3 separate regions of the Homo sapiens genome follow, and all the other regions are linked to region 2. Evidence: promoter capture Hi-C in human tissues and cell types (Jung and others, 2019). All regions are on one chromosome and are shown on one strand. Each heading gives the region's core, a stretch centred on a gene start or on the middle of the fragment in contact. The rest is flanking DNA. Distances are from core to core; before and after follow the strand shown.

Evidence for each region. Contacts are between HindIII fragments. The study calls those that stand out against the background at their distance.
Region 1: a contact is called between the fragment with the promoter of GRN here and a fragment that was not itself captured in region 2, in 1 of the 25 tissues and cell types used here (dorsolateral prefrontal cortex).
Region 3: the fragment with the promoter of SLC25A39 here is called in contact with a fragment that was not itself captured in region 2 in 1 of the 25 tissues and cell types used here (hippocampus).

The regions. Positions count from the first base shown.
Region 1 is chr17:44,343,147-44,346,951 of GRCh38, reverse strand. It overlaps GRN (granulin precursor), which reads right to left and starts at 1,650. Exons shown (of 13, transcript NM_002087.4): 1 at 1,618-1,650. RefSeq lists enhancers at 1,378-1,527, 2,679-3,604. The HindIII fragment of the contact is 17,447 bases long and covers 1-3,805 here.
Region 2 is chr17:44,693,472-44,697,204 of GRCh38, reverse strand. No RefSeq gene overlaps it. Among named protein-coding and RNA genes, the nearest start is that of CCDC43, 5.6 kb to the right of the region's middle. The HindIII fragment of the contact is 6,435 bases long and covers 1-3,733 here.
Region 3 is chr17:44,323,526-44,327,375 of GRCh38, reverse strand. SLC25A39 (solute carrier family 25 member 39) reads left to right here and starts at 2,553. Exons shown (of 12, transcript NM_001143780.3): 1 at 2,553-2,665; 2 at 3,799-3,850. The coding sequence starts at 3,814. It overlaps LOC124904009 (a long non-coding RNA gene), which reads right to left and starts at 1,923. Exons shown (of 2, transcript XR_007065768.1): 1 at 1,755-1,923; 2 at 1-434. RefSeq lists enhancers at 1,471-1,520, 779-1,630, 1,701-1,760, 1,811-1,890, 2,051-2,240 and 1 more, a cis regulatory region at 129-806 and silencers at 2,341-2,770, 2,791-3,010. The HindIII fragment of the contact is 13,748 bases long and covers 1-3,850 here.

The sequences.
Region 1 (3,805 bases), core at 401-2,900, 350 kb after region 2:
AGAGATGGGGGTTTCACCATGTTGGTCAGGCTGGTCTCAAACTCCAGACCTCAGGTGATCCACCTGCCACGGCCTCCCAAAGTGGTGGGATTACAGGCATGAGCCACCACGCCCAGCCGACATGTCATTTCCATTGTATTAGGTATAAGTAATCTAGAAATGATTTAAAGTATGTATAGGTTATATGCAAATATTACACCATTTTATCTCAGGGGCTTGAGCACCCACAGATTTTGGGGTCCTGGAACCAGTTCCGTGAAGATACCAAGGGACACCTATAACACGTCACACATCAGGTCATGGTGACGTCAGGCTTTGATGGCCCCAGAGCGTATTGGACCTGGGTTCATATCACTAGTGGCACGATGGGCAGTGCCTGGGAATGGTGCAACAGGTACAACAGAAACAGGGTACAGGGACTGCCTGAAAATCGCACTTGGGTCCTAATCCTAGAATTGCCAACTGTGAGGGCCTGAGAAGTTGCTCTCTGTCTGTGCCTCAGTTACCCCACGAGTCTAGGTGTGGATACCACTGCGGGGGGAGGGGCAGGAAATCTCACCCACCCAGTCACTCACATCCTCTCTGCTCCACCTGGCTTTCCTCAAGTGCCCCTCCCCTAACTCAGCATCCCCAAGAGGCCACCTCCTGGACAGATAAGGATGAAGTTCACTGGTCCTGGACAGTGGACCCTCTCCTCAGCCCCACAGCTCCCAGGCAAAGCACCTGCAGCTGGCACCGCCTGCTTCCTGGGTGTTCTCAGCAGGCTGTCCGCTGCCATGGCTTGCTGGGAAGGGGAGTCTGTCTGCACAGGAGTGTTCGGCTCCCTGGTGAATTACCTGTGCATGTGGCCCCTCCTGTTTACCCTAAATTGAGGGAGTATAGTGTATGCTTCTACTGAATACAAGCACTCGCATACAGAAACAGGGATGAGGAGGCGAGTCGCAGTCTCTCATGCCACCCTACACCGCCAAAACAGCCAGAGGGGACAGCAGCCTCTTCAAGACCCTAGCTCCGTTATCTTCCACTAGGTGGCACCCCCCAACTCCGAGTGCCAAGGGGAGAGGAAATTCCCAAAAGGGGAGCCAACCTAGCTGCAAATGAGCAGGAAAAAGTGGCTGGGAGAGGCGGAAGCTAGCTCGTCCCACCCGCAACAAGAGGAAGTAAGGAGGAGCCAGACCAGGTTCAGTCACCACTCCCAAGTCCCTACTACCTTCGAGAAGCCAAGGTCTCAGGTCTCGTTCCCAGGCCCTCGGAGCTCCCAGCCCAGGGTCGCGCGCCCCTCCGGCTCCAGGCCGCCGCGGGAACCACCCACCACCACCAGGAGAGGGGAAGAAGCCAGCACCTACCGACAGGGGTGGAGCTGGGTCAAGAATGGTGTGGTCCCTGCTTTGGGGGAATGCTGGGGAGGTAGAAAGCCCCTTCTAACGGGGCGTCACTGCAATTACTGCTTCCTCTTTCCCATAAAACTCCCCCTAGTGTATCAGAACCCCCAAGGAGTTTCAGTAAGCGGTTCTTCTGTTGTCTCCGGCTGAGACTCCAGGGGAACCTCAAGCTCACATGGCCCTGGCGGGCCCCTGGGCAGGAGCAGGCGAGAGGTCTGCGCGGCCGCTCTCCTACCTGCGTCCGACTCCGCGGTCCTTGGGCAGCAGCAACCGGGTAGCGCTCAGACTACAGACCCCAGCGCGATGACCCGCCTACCTCAGTTTCCATTGGCCAGGGATCAGGGCTACCCGCTCCCATTGGCTACTTATCAATATAGAGGTGGGGCCAGCCTGGAATGCTGTGTTTCTTTTCTACTCAAATCACTCTCCTCCCTGCTTCCTCTCGCCCCACACCCCATTTCTAGGGATCATGTGATTGGAGAATCATGTGACGTCGGGACAGCCTCAGCAGGGCAGCTGGTGCTCGTCGCCTTCCTTAACCCATCCTGCAGGCGCCTGGGGGAGTTTGCTAGAGATGATAGCGCGTGTCTGGGGCATTGACAGTGCGAGGGAGTGTTATGAATTGGGAATATTTGTGCTCGCCTTTCTATCCTTTTGTTTGTTTGTTCTGAGACGGAGTCTCACTCTGTCGCCAGGCTGGAGTGCAGTGGCACGATCTCGGCTCACTGCAACCTCTGCCTCCCGGGTTCAAGCGATTCTCCTGCCTCAGCCTCCCGAGTAGCTGGGACTACAGGCGCGCACCACCACGCCCAGCTAATTTTTGTATTTTTAGTAGAGACGGGGTTTCACCATGTTGGCCAGGATGGTCTCGATTTCTTGACCTCGTGATCCGCCCACCTCGGCCTCCCAAAGTGCTAAGATTACAGGCATGAGCCACCGCGCCCGGACTTGTGTGTTTGTTTTAGAGACAGGGTCTCGCTCAGTCGCCCAAGCTGATCATAGCTCACTGCGGCCTGCAACTCCTGCTCCCAAAGCGATTCTCCTACCGCAGCCCCCCAAGGCGCTGGGATTACAAATGTGAGCTACTGAGCTGGCTCGCTCCTATCCTATCCTGCCCTGTCTTGTCCTGTCCTGTCCTGCCCTATTCTGCCCTATTCTCCAAACTCGGTTGACATGCTAGGCAGGCCCCAGAGTGAGTTGAAGGATGGTTTCCAGGACAAAGATAAACAGCCCCAAAGCCCTTTCCTCAAGGTGCTCAGCAGGACAGGGAGCAGGGATTGGTGGGAGACAGTCTCAGGCTGAATCTAATTTAAGATACAAGGTTGTGCGCCAGTTGCCAGGTGTAGGGAGAGGAAGTAGATTGTCTCCAGGTGGGGAAGAAGAGATTTCATTCCACCTTAGGAGCATCTCCTTGAGCTGAGTCTGGGAAGATTTTAACTGGCAGGTGGAGGAGGAGGTGTTGGGAAGAGCCCTGGGAAACCAGATGGGAAGGGCAGGCTTGGCAGGGATTGAATGCCATGTTCAATGCCAGTGGGCTTCAGGAGCTGCTGGGTGCCTGGCACGGGCTGGGCTGTGGTGGGGGCTGTCGAAAGAGAAGTGGCTTCCTAGTCTCCAGATCGGCCCTGCCTTCGAGGAATTGATATGGGAGGGTGAGGAGAGAAAATGTACCACAGAACAGATTAGCCAGTGACAAGAGTCAGCCTGCTTGGTGCCAAAGGGCCTGGGCCAGGCAGAGATGGATGATGGGAGATGGGCCAGGAGAGAGGAGAGGCCCAGGGAAAGCCTGATACTGGGCCGTGGAGGAACGGCAGTGTCTGCACAGGGGATGGAGACTGCTGCAGCCTGAGCAAGGAACTGGAGCTGAGGATGAGGCAGGGGCAGGGGGATGGCTAACCAAGCTCGAGGCAGCAGAAGTCGGAGGAGGGAAAGGGTGCCAACCGAGCTGTGGAGTCGTGTGGCAGGGGTTCTAAGCCTGGAGCTAGAGCAGACCCAGACAGCGGATAAGACACCTGGCCTGCTGAGGACCTAGTACTAGTCTGTGCCCTGGTGACACATTTGTGCTTATTTTCCTTCCTGTGTATCTTGAGACTAGGGAGTATAGTTTATGCTTCTATTGAAACACACACACACATGAAACTTTCATGAAATGTTAGGTGAATCGATCAATAACCTACTAATTACAACCACCCAGAACCAGAAAAAAATACAGGTAGAAGAAAAAAAACCTAAACAGACTGAAACAAATATCACAAAGTCTAATCGTCAAAGCCGTGATTCTTGAGCAGCGGCAATTTTGCCGGCCAGGGACATTTAGGAGTGTCTGGAGACAATCTGGGTTGTCACAACTCAGGGTGGAGGGACACTGGCATCTGGTAGGTAAGGGCCAGCAATCCCACTAAACATCACACGACACACAGAACAAT
Region 2 (3,733 bases), core at 1,223-3,722:
CATCCTGGCTAACACGATGAAACCCCGTCTCTACTAAAAATACAAAAAAAAAAATTAGCCGGGCGCGGTGGCGGGCGCCTGTAGTCCCAGTTACTCCGGAGGCTGAGGCAGGAGAATGGCGTGAACCTGGGAGGCGGAGCTTGCAGTGAGCCGAGATCACGCCACTGCACTCCAGCCTGGGCGACAGAGTAAGACTCCGTCTCAAAAAAAAAAAAAAAAAAAAAAGATGGGTCCGGGTGCAATCTCTTATGCCTGTAATCCCAGCACTTTGGGGGGCTGAGGTGGACGGATTGCTTGAGGCCAGGAGATCGAGATCAGCCTGGTCAACATGGTGAAATCCTGTCTCTACCAAAAAAAAAAAAAAAAAAAAAGATTAAAATGCCAAATTACATATTTTACCACAATTAAAAATAAAAATAAATAAAGAAGTGGGGGTGGTAATGAAACATCTTCAACTACATTATTTTTACTAAGGACTTTTGGTATACTACAAATAATAAATATTTATATTATGTACTTCTTTCTTTTTTTTTTTTTTTCAGACGGAGTCTTGCTCTGTCGCCTAGGCCTGGAGTGCAGTGGTTCAATCTTGGCTCACTGCAACCTCCGCTCCCCGGGTTCAAGCGATTCTTTTGCCTCAGACTCCCGAGTAGCTGGGATTACAGATGCCCACCACCATTGCTCGGCTAATTTTTGTATTTTTAGTACAGACCCGGTTTCACCATGTTGGCCAGGCTGGTCTTGAACCCCTGACCTCAAGTGATCCACCCACCTCGGCCTCTCAAAGTGTTGGGATTACAGGTGTGAGCCATCACGCCCGGCCTACTTCATTTTTTAACGATTTTCTCCTTTTTGTAGTTCTCTTTTTGTATGTTTTATGATGGACATACTAATTTGATATAGCAGTTCACACAAATAATTCATAAATAACTACATATTAGTGCATTAGGTGTACATGCTGAGAATATTTTTACTGCTAAGAGTATGTGGCAAAAATGTCTGATGCTCACTGATCTAGAGGAACTTTCCCATGGTGGGCAAGGGGACCACCTAAGAATGTGAACTGGTGCACTGACTGGAAAACTAGGAACTAACCTCACCATCCATCGGCAGAGGAATGGATCAGCTGGAGCATATTAAAGCAACGGAATACTATGCAGTGATTTAAATGGATGGATAAGAGCTACATATATCAACATGGGTAAAGATATATATAAAATATATATAGATACATATATATTATATATATTTTTTTCTTTTTTTTTTTGAGATGGGGTTTCGCTTTTGTTGCCCAGGCTGGAGTGCAATGGCGCGATCTCGGCTAACCGCAACCTCCGCCTCCCGGGTTCAAGCGATTCTCCTGTCTCAGCCTCCCAAGTAGCTGGGATTACAGGCATGTGCCACCAAACCTGGCTAATTTTGCATTTTTAGTAGAGATGGGGTTTCTCCATGTTGGTCAGGCTTGTCCCGAACCCCTGACCTCAGGTGATCCGCCCGCCTTGGCCTCCCAAAGTGCTGGGATTACAGGCATGAGCCACCGTGCCCGGCCATATACACGTATATATTTTTTGAGACAGGGTCTTGCTCTGTCACCTAGGCTGGAGTGCAGTGGCGCAGTCTTGGCTCACTGCAACCTCCGCCTCCCAGGTTCAAGCTATTCTCCTGCCTCAGCCTCCTAAGTAGCTGGGATTACAGGCGTGCGTGACCACGCCCAGTTAATTTTTGTAGCTTTAGTAGAGATGGGGTTTCACCATGTTGGTGAGGCTTGTCTCAAACTCTTGACCTCAGCTGATCCACCCGCCTAGGCCTCCCAAAGTGCTGGGATTACAGGCATGAGCGACTGCGCCCGGCCCAACATGGGTAAATATTTTAAACAACCTTGAGTGAAAAAGCACATTGCAGAATGAAAAGTACAGCATGCACACCAATGTGATATATTATGGATACATCCATATGTTGTAATATGTATTATATATGTAGCAATGTGTACTATGTTTAAAAACATTCAAGAAGAAAATAAACACCAAATTCAGGAATAGTGGTTACATCTGGGGAGAGAGGGGAGAAAATGAGGTTGGAGAAAGGGCTTCAAATTTGCTTTCTTTTACAAAAAGATACAAAGTAAATAAATATAACAGTTCAAAACCAGTCTCCTTCAGTTCTCCTCCTCAGTGGACAACCATTCTCACATATCCCTGGTGTATCTTTCCAGAGATAGCCTATGCACATACAAGGACACATATGTACATGTATTCCCCTACCCTAACTTCTTTTTAAATAGTGATGGTGGCAAGCATTACATATTGTTGATCTGTACTTTTTAAACAATGTATCTCGAACTTTGATACATGTCAGTGCATAAAGAGCTTCTTTGTTCTTTTTTTTTTTTTTTTTTCGAGACGGAGTCTTGCTCTGTAGCCCAGGCTGGAGAGCAATGGCATGATCTCCTCTCACTGCAACCTCTGCCTCCTGGATTCAAGCGATTCTCCTGCCTCAGCCTCCCGAGTAGCTGGGATTACAGGTGCTTACCACCATGCCCAGCTAATTTTTGTATTTTTAGTTGGCCAGGCTGGTCTCGAACTCTTGACCTCAGGTGATCCACCTGCTTTGGCCTCCCAAAGTGCTGGGACTACAGGCACCAGCCACCGCGCCCGGCCTCTTTGTTCATTTTTTTTTTTTTTTTTACAGCTGTGCAATACTTCTTTGTGTGGCTACCAGAGTTTTTGAACCAGTCTCATATACATAAAATGTAGACTATTCTTTTACTACAAAAAGCTTCACTACAATGAATATCCTTAGAAAAATGTGATTCTACACAAATGCACAGTTTTATTTTTTAAAGACAGAGTTTTGTTCTGTTGTTCAGGCTAGAATGCAGTGGCATCATCATAGCTCATGTAAATTTGAGCTCCTGGGCTCAAGTGATCCTCTTGCCTCAACCTCCTGAGTAGGTAGGACAAAAGACATGCACCACCACTTTTTTTTTTTGTAGAGCTGGGGTCTCATTATGTTGACCAGGTTAGTCTCGAACTCCTGGCCTCAAGCAATCCTCCCTTGTCAGCCTCCCAAAGTACTGGGATTACAGGTGTAAGCCAGTGTGCCTGGCCATTATACAAAATATTAAATCAAAATTTTTTTCTTTTTTTGAGACAGAGTCTCACTCTGTTGCCCAGGCTGGAATGCAGTGGCATTATCTCAACTCACTGCAACCTCCGTGTCCCGAATTCGAGTGAATCTCCTGCCTCAGCTTCTCAAGTGGCCAAGTAGCTGGGACTATAGGCATGCATTACCACACCTGGCTAATTTTTATATTTTTAGTAGAGACAGGGTTTTGCCATGTTGGCTAGACTGGTCTTGAACTCCTGACCTCAGTGATCCACCCACCTTGGCCTCCCTAAGTGCGGGGATTACAGGCGTGAGCCACCGCGCCCAGCCAACCACGCCCAGTTTAAACCACGCCCAGTTTAAACAGGCACCACGCCCAGTTTAAACCAAAAATTTTAAAAATAATTAATACTTAACACTATTAAATCGTATACTTAAAAATAGTTAAGATGGCAAATTGTGTATTTTACCACAAGTAAAGATAAAAATAAATGAATAACTTATGAACAAATTCCCAGAAGCAGAAATGCTGGGTCTTTTCAAACAAACAGTCCTCCAACAAGACCAGATCCATTTACTTTCTGCTCTAACATTTTCCAATGTCTTTTACCCAAGCACAGTTCAATAC
Region 3 (3,850 bases), core at 1,304-3,803, 370 kb after region 2:
CAGGTGCGCACCACCACCGCTGGCTAATTTTTGTATTTTTAGTAGAGACGGGGCTTCGTCATGTTGGTCAGGCTGGTCTCGAACTCCTGTCCTCAGGTGATCCGCCCACCTCGGCCTCCCAAACTGCTGGGATTACAGGCGTGAGCCCGACCTTGACTGATAGTTGATTAAATTATTTCGTGTCATTTCTGAACTCAGCTTGAGATGGGAAGGGAATGGAAAGGACGCCTTCTCTCGGGCCCTTTTGCCCAGCGCCCCTTTACAGGTCACAGATTGCACTCTCCCTGCTCCCAAGCTGGAGTTTCAGAGCTGTGGGGGAGCTCAAAGGCATTTTGTCAGGGAAAGCTGATAGTTGGCCCCTCGGAGTCCACGTGCTAACCCGGCAGGCGCCGGCTGACTGGGCTCCTCCAGCGCCGGACGCGACCAGTGGGGGCCTGAAGGGCGGGGAAGGCAGAGACGTCAAAGTCGAGGCCTACCCTTCTTAAAGGCGCAGGCTAGGAGTACCCATCTCCCCGCCCGCCCCCCCCCGCCTCCACCCGCCCGCCCGCCCCCCTCCGCCACCGCCCGCGCGTGCTGGTTTCTCTGTTAGGACAAATAAGCAAGATAGCACAGAAGTTCTAAACGCGAAGTGGGTGGTGGGGCCTGGGGTACGGGGCTGCCCCGGGAAATAAAGTGTCTCCCTGACAAGCGGGATCGGAGAGGGCAGCGCTGGACTTAAGCCTTCCTGTCTCCCGGGGAGGCAGTGTGGAGCCCTGGGAAAAGCACCCGGCCGGTTCGAATCTCCGGCTCTTCACGTCGAGCCTCAGTTTCACTTTCTGTAAAACGGGGTAATCTATTTCTTTTTCAGACGGAGTTTCGCTCTTGTTGCCCAGGCTGGAGTGCAATGGCGCAGTCTCGGCTCACCGCAACCTCCGCCTTCCGGGTTTAAGCGATTCTCCTGCCTCAGCCTCTCGAGTGGCTGGGATTACTGGCATGCGCCACCACGCCCGGCTAATTTTTTGTATTTTTAGTAGAGACGAGGTTTCACCATGTTGGTCAGGCTGCTCTCGAACTCCTGACCTCTGGTGATCCGCCCGCCTCGGCCTCCAAAAAGGCTGGGATTACAGGCGTAAGCCACTGCGCCCGGCCTTTTTTTTTGAGACGGAGTGTTACTCTGTTGCCCAGGCTGGAATGCAGTGGTGCGATCTCGGCTCACTGCAACCTCCGCCGGCCGGGTTCAAGCGATTCTCCTGCCTCAGCCTCCCGAGTAGCTGGGATTACAGGCGCCAGCCATCATGCCCGGCTACTTTTGTATTTTTAGTAGAGACGGGGTTTCACCATGTTGGCCAGGCTGGTCTCGAACTCCTGACTTCAAGTGATCCGCCCGCCTCGGCCTCCTAAAGTGCTGGATTACAGGCGTGAGCCACCGCGCCCGGCCTGTGGTAATCTATTTCAACAATAACCTACTGCAAAGAGTTTTGAGACTCAGAAGAAATCACGATACGAGAGCAACCAACACCAAAACGTCGATGCCCTCCCGCACTCAGTGCTCTTCCTCTCCGCGCAGAGTCATTCCGGGCCTTAGGCGAGGTTGTGATTTGCCCAAGGTCACGCGAAGGTGGGATCTGGCTCCCCATGGCTCTCCCGTCTCCCCCGGCTTGCTCACGTCCCAGCCCGCCCGGCCCGGGCTGCAGCTCAGCTAACCCAGTGGCGCACACCCGCGCGGGGCCCTGTGGTTTACAAAGCGTTTTGCAGTTGCAGGCCTGTCCTGTAACCTGAAAAATGGGGGCGATGCTAAGGCCGGCGAGAGAAGTCGCCGCGAAGTTTTCAAGTCTCGGCGGGTAGCCCGGCAAGTAACTTCGTCGTTATTGTGTGGTCTCCCGGCGATCTCGAAGAACTCATTCTCACTGCCGCCGCCACGCACCTGAGGACACCGAGGAAGAGGGCCAGTGCGTCACCCTCGCCGTCCAGAAGGCGCTGGGGTTTCCAGTGCCGCGCGCGGCCGGGGCGGGGCTGGTGAAAATGCGCTGTTAAGGCCGGCGCGGCGGCTCACGCCTGGAATCCCAGCACTTTCGAAGACCGAGGTGGGCGGATCGCTTGAGCCCAGGAGTTCCAGACTAGCCTGGGCAAAATAGGGAGACAAAAATAAAAGTAACAAACCAGCCGGGCGTGGCGGCGCGCGCCTGTGGTCCCAGCTACTCCGGAGGCTGAGGCAGGAGGATCGCTTGAACCCGGGAGGTCAAGGCTGCAGTGAGCCTAGATCGCGCCACTGCCCTCCAGCCTCGGCGACAGAGCGAGGCTGAAAAAGATGCTGTCTAAAAAAAGATGCTGGAAGTGCGTGCTGCTGCCACGTTAAGCGCGACGTGGAGACCGCGAAGTTGGCCGGCAGCTCTCAGCGCTGGACAGGCATGGAACTCGCCCGCGCGGCCCCGTCAAGGGGGCGGGACCGTCGCAGGTCCGGGCGGAGACGCGAGTGGGCGGAGCCGGGGACACTCCGGGCTTGCGGCTGGTCGGCCCGCGGCGGGCGGGGCCTCGTGGCGCGGTGTAGGGGCGGGGCCCCCTTGGCTGCTTTCGGCGTCGGCCTAGGTGCGCTGCGAGCGCGCGCGGACCGCGCACAGGCGGCGGAGCCGGTATGGGCCCGCCTGACCCTGGGCGCCGCGCCGCACGAGCACCAGCCTAGAGCCAGGTAGGCGGCACTGGGCCGGGGCTGGGGGCGGAGACGGAAGCGGGGGTCTCCGGGCGGCCGTGCGAGCCAGGGCAGGTGCTGGGGCCGTCGAGCTGGCGTGGTCCCCCTCACCTGGCGGCTCTCCGCCGTTCGGGGCCGGGAGTGTCGCCGAGGGTCGGGGAGACGTCCTGGTCCTACGTTCCTACTTCCCGCTCTCCCGGCTGCGCCCCGGGCCTGCATTTTGGGGCGGGAACCCAGAGACTGCTCTTTCTCTCCGGGCCCCGGGTCTGGCCCGTCCGGCCGGGCGGGGAGGGCCGGGCATCCCAGCCCGCAGTCCTGAGGAGGCGACGGGCCCTTCTTGGTCACCGGATCTGTTTACACGTCACCCTCGATGCCCGGCCGTCCCTCCACGCCCAGTAACTTGGGCTCTCAGGTGCCTGCCCGGGGCCTTGGTGCTGGAGTGGGGGCTGTGGGGGCAGCACAGGTACTCTGATTTTGGGGCCACGAGGGCCAAATCCGCGCCTGCACGTAGGAGGTGCGCAGTGGACACGTGCGAGGTGGACGAGGGAAGGACCCTGGCTCCTACTGCATTCGAGCGATAGGTCTGGCACCCTAGCTTCCTTCGGAACCACTCCTGAGTGACCTTGGGCAGGCCACCTCGTCTCCCCGAGCCTTAGTTTTCCCCGGCGGAGGGGGGCGGACAGTCCCTGCTTTAGAGGTCATTGCCAGGGTTGTTGAGGCAACAGATGTTTCGAGGGCGGTGGATGAGGGTTGGGTTAAAGTCTCACAGTGGGCCGGGTGCGGTGGCTCACGCCTGTAATCCCAGTGCTTTGGGAGGCTGAGGCGGGCGGATCACGAGGTCAGGAGATCGAGATCATCTTGGCCAACATGGTGAAACCCTGTCTCTACTAAAAATGCAAAAATTAACTAGGCGTGGTGGTGCGCGCCTGTAGTCCCAGCTACTTGGGAGGCTGAAGCAAGAGAACCGCTTGAACGGGGGTGGATGTTGCAGTGAGCCAAGATGGTGCCACTGCACTCCAGCCTGGCAACAGTGCGCAGAGCGAGACGCCGTCTCAAAACAAAAGTCTCACAGTGGCCCAGCCTCCTTTCCTGCCATCCCTGGAGTTGTGGTCTGTTTGAGGTTTGGTTTTCAGGACTGAAGCTTCAAGATGGCTGACCAGGACCCTGCGGGCATCAGCCCCCTCC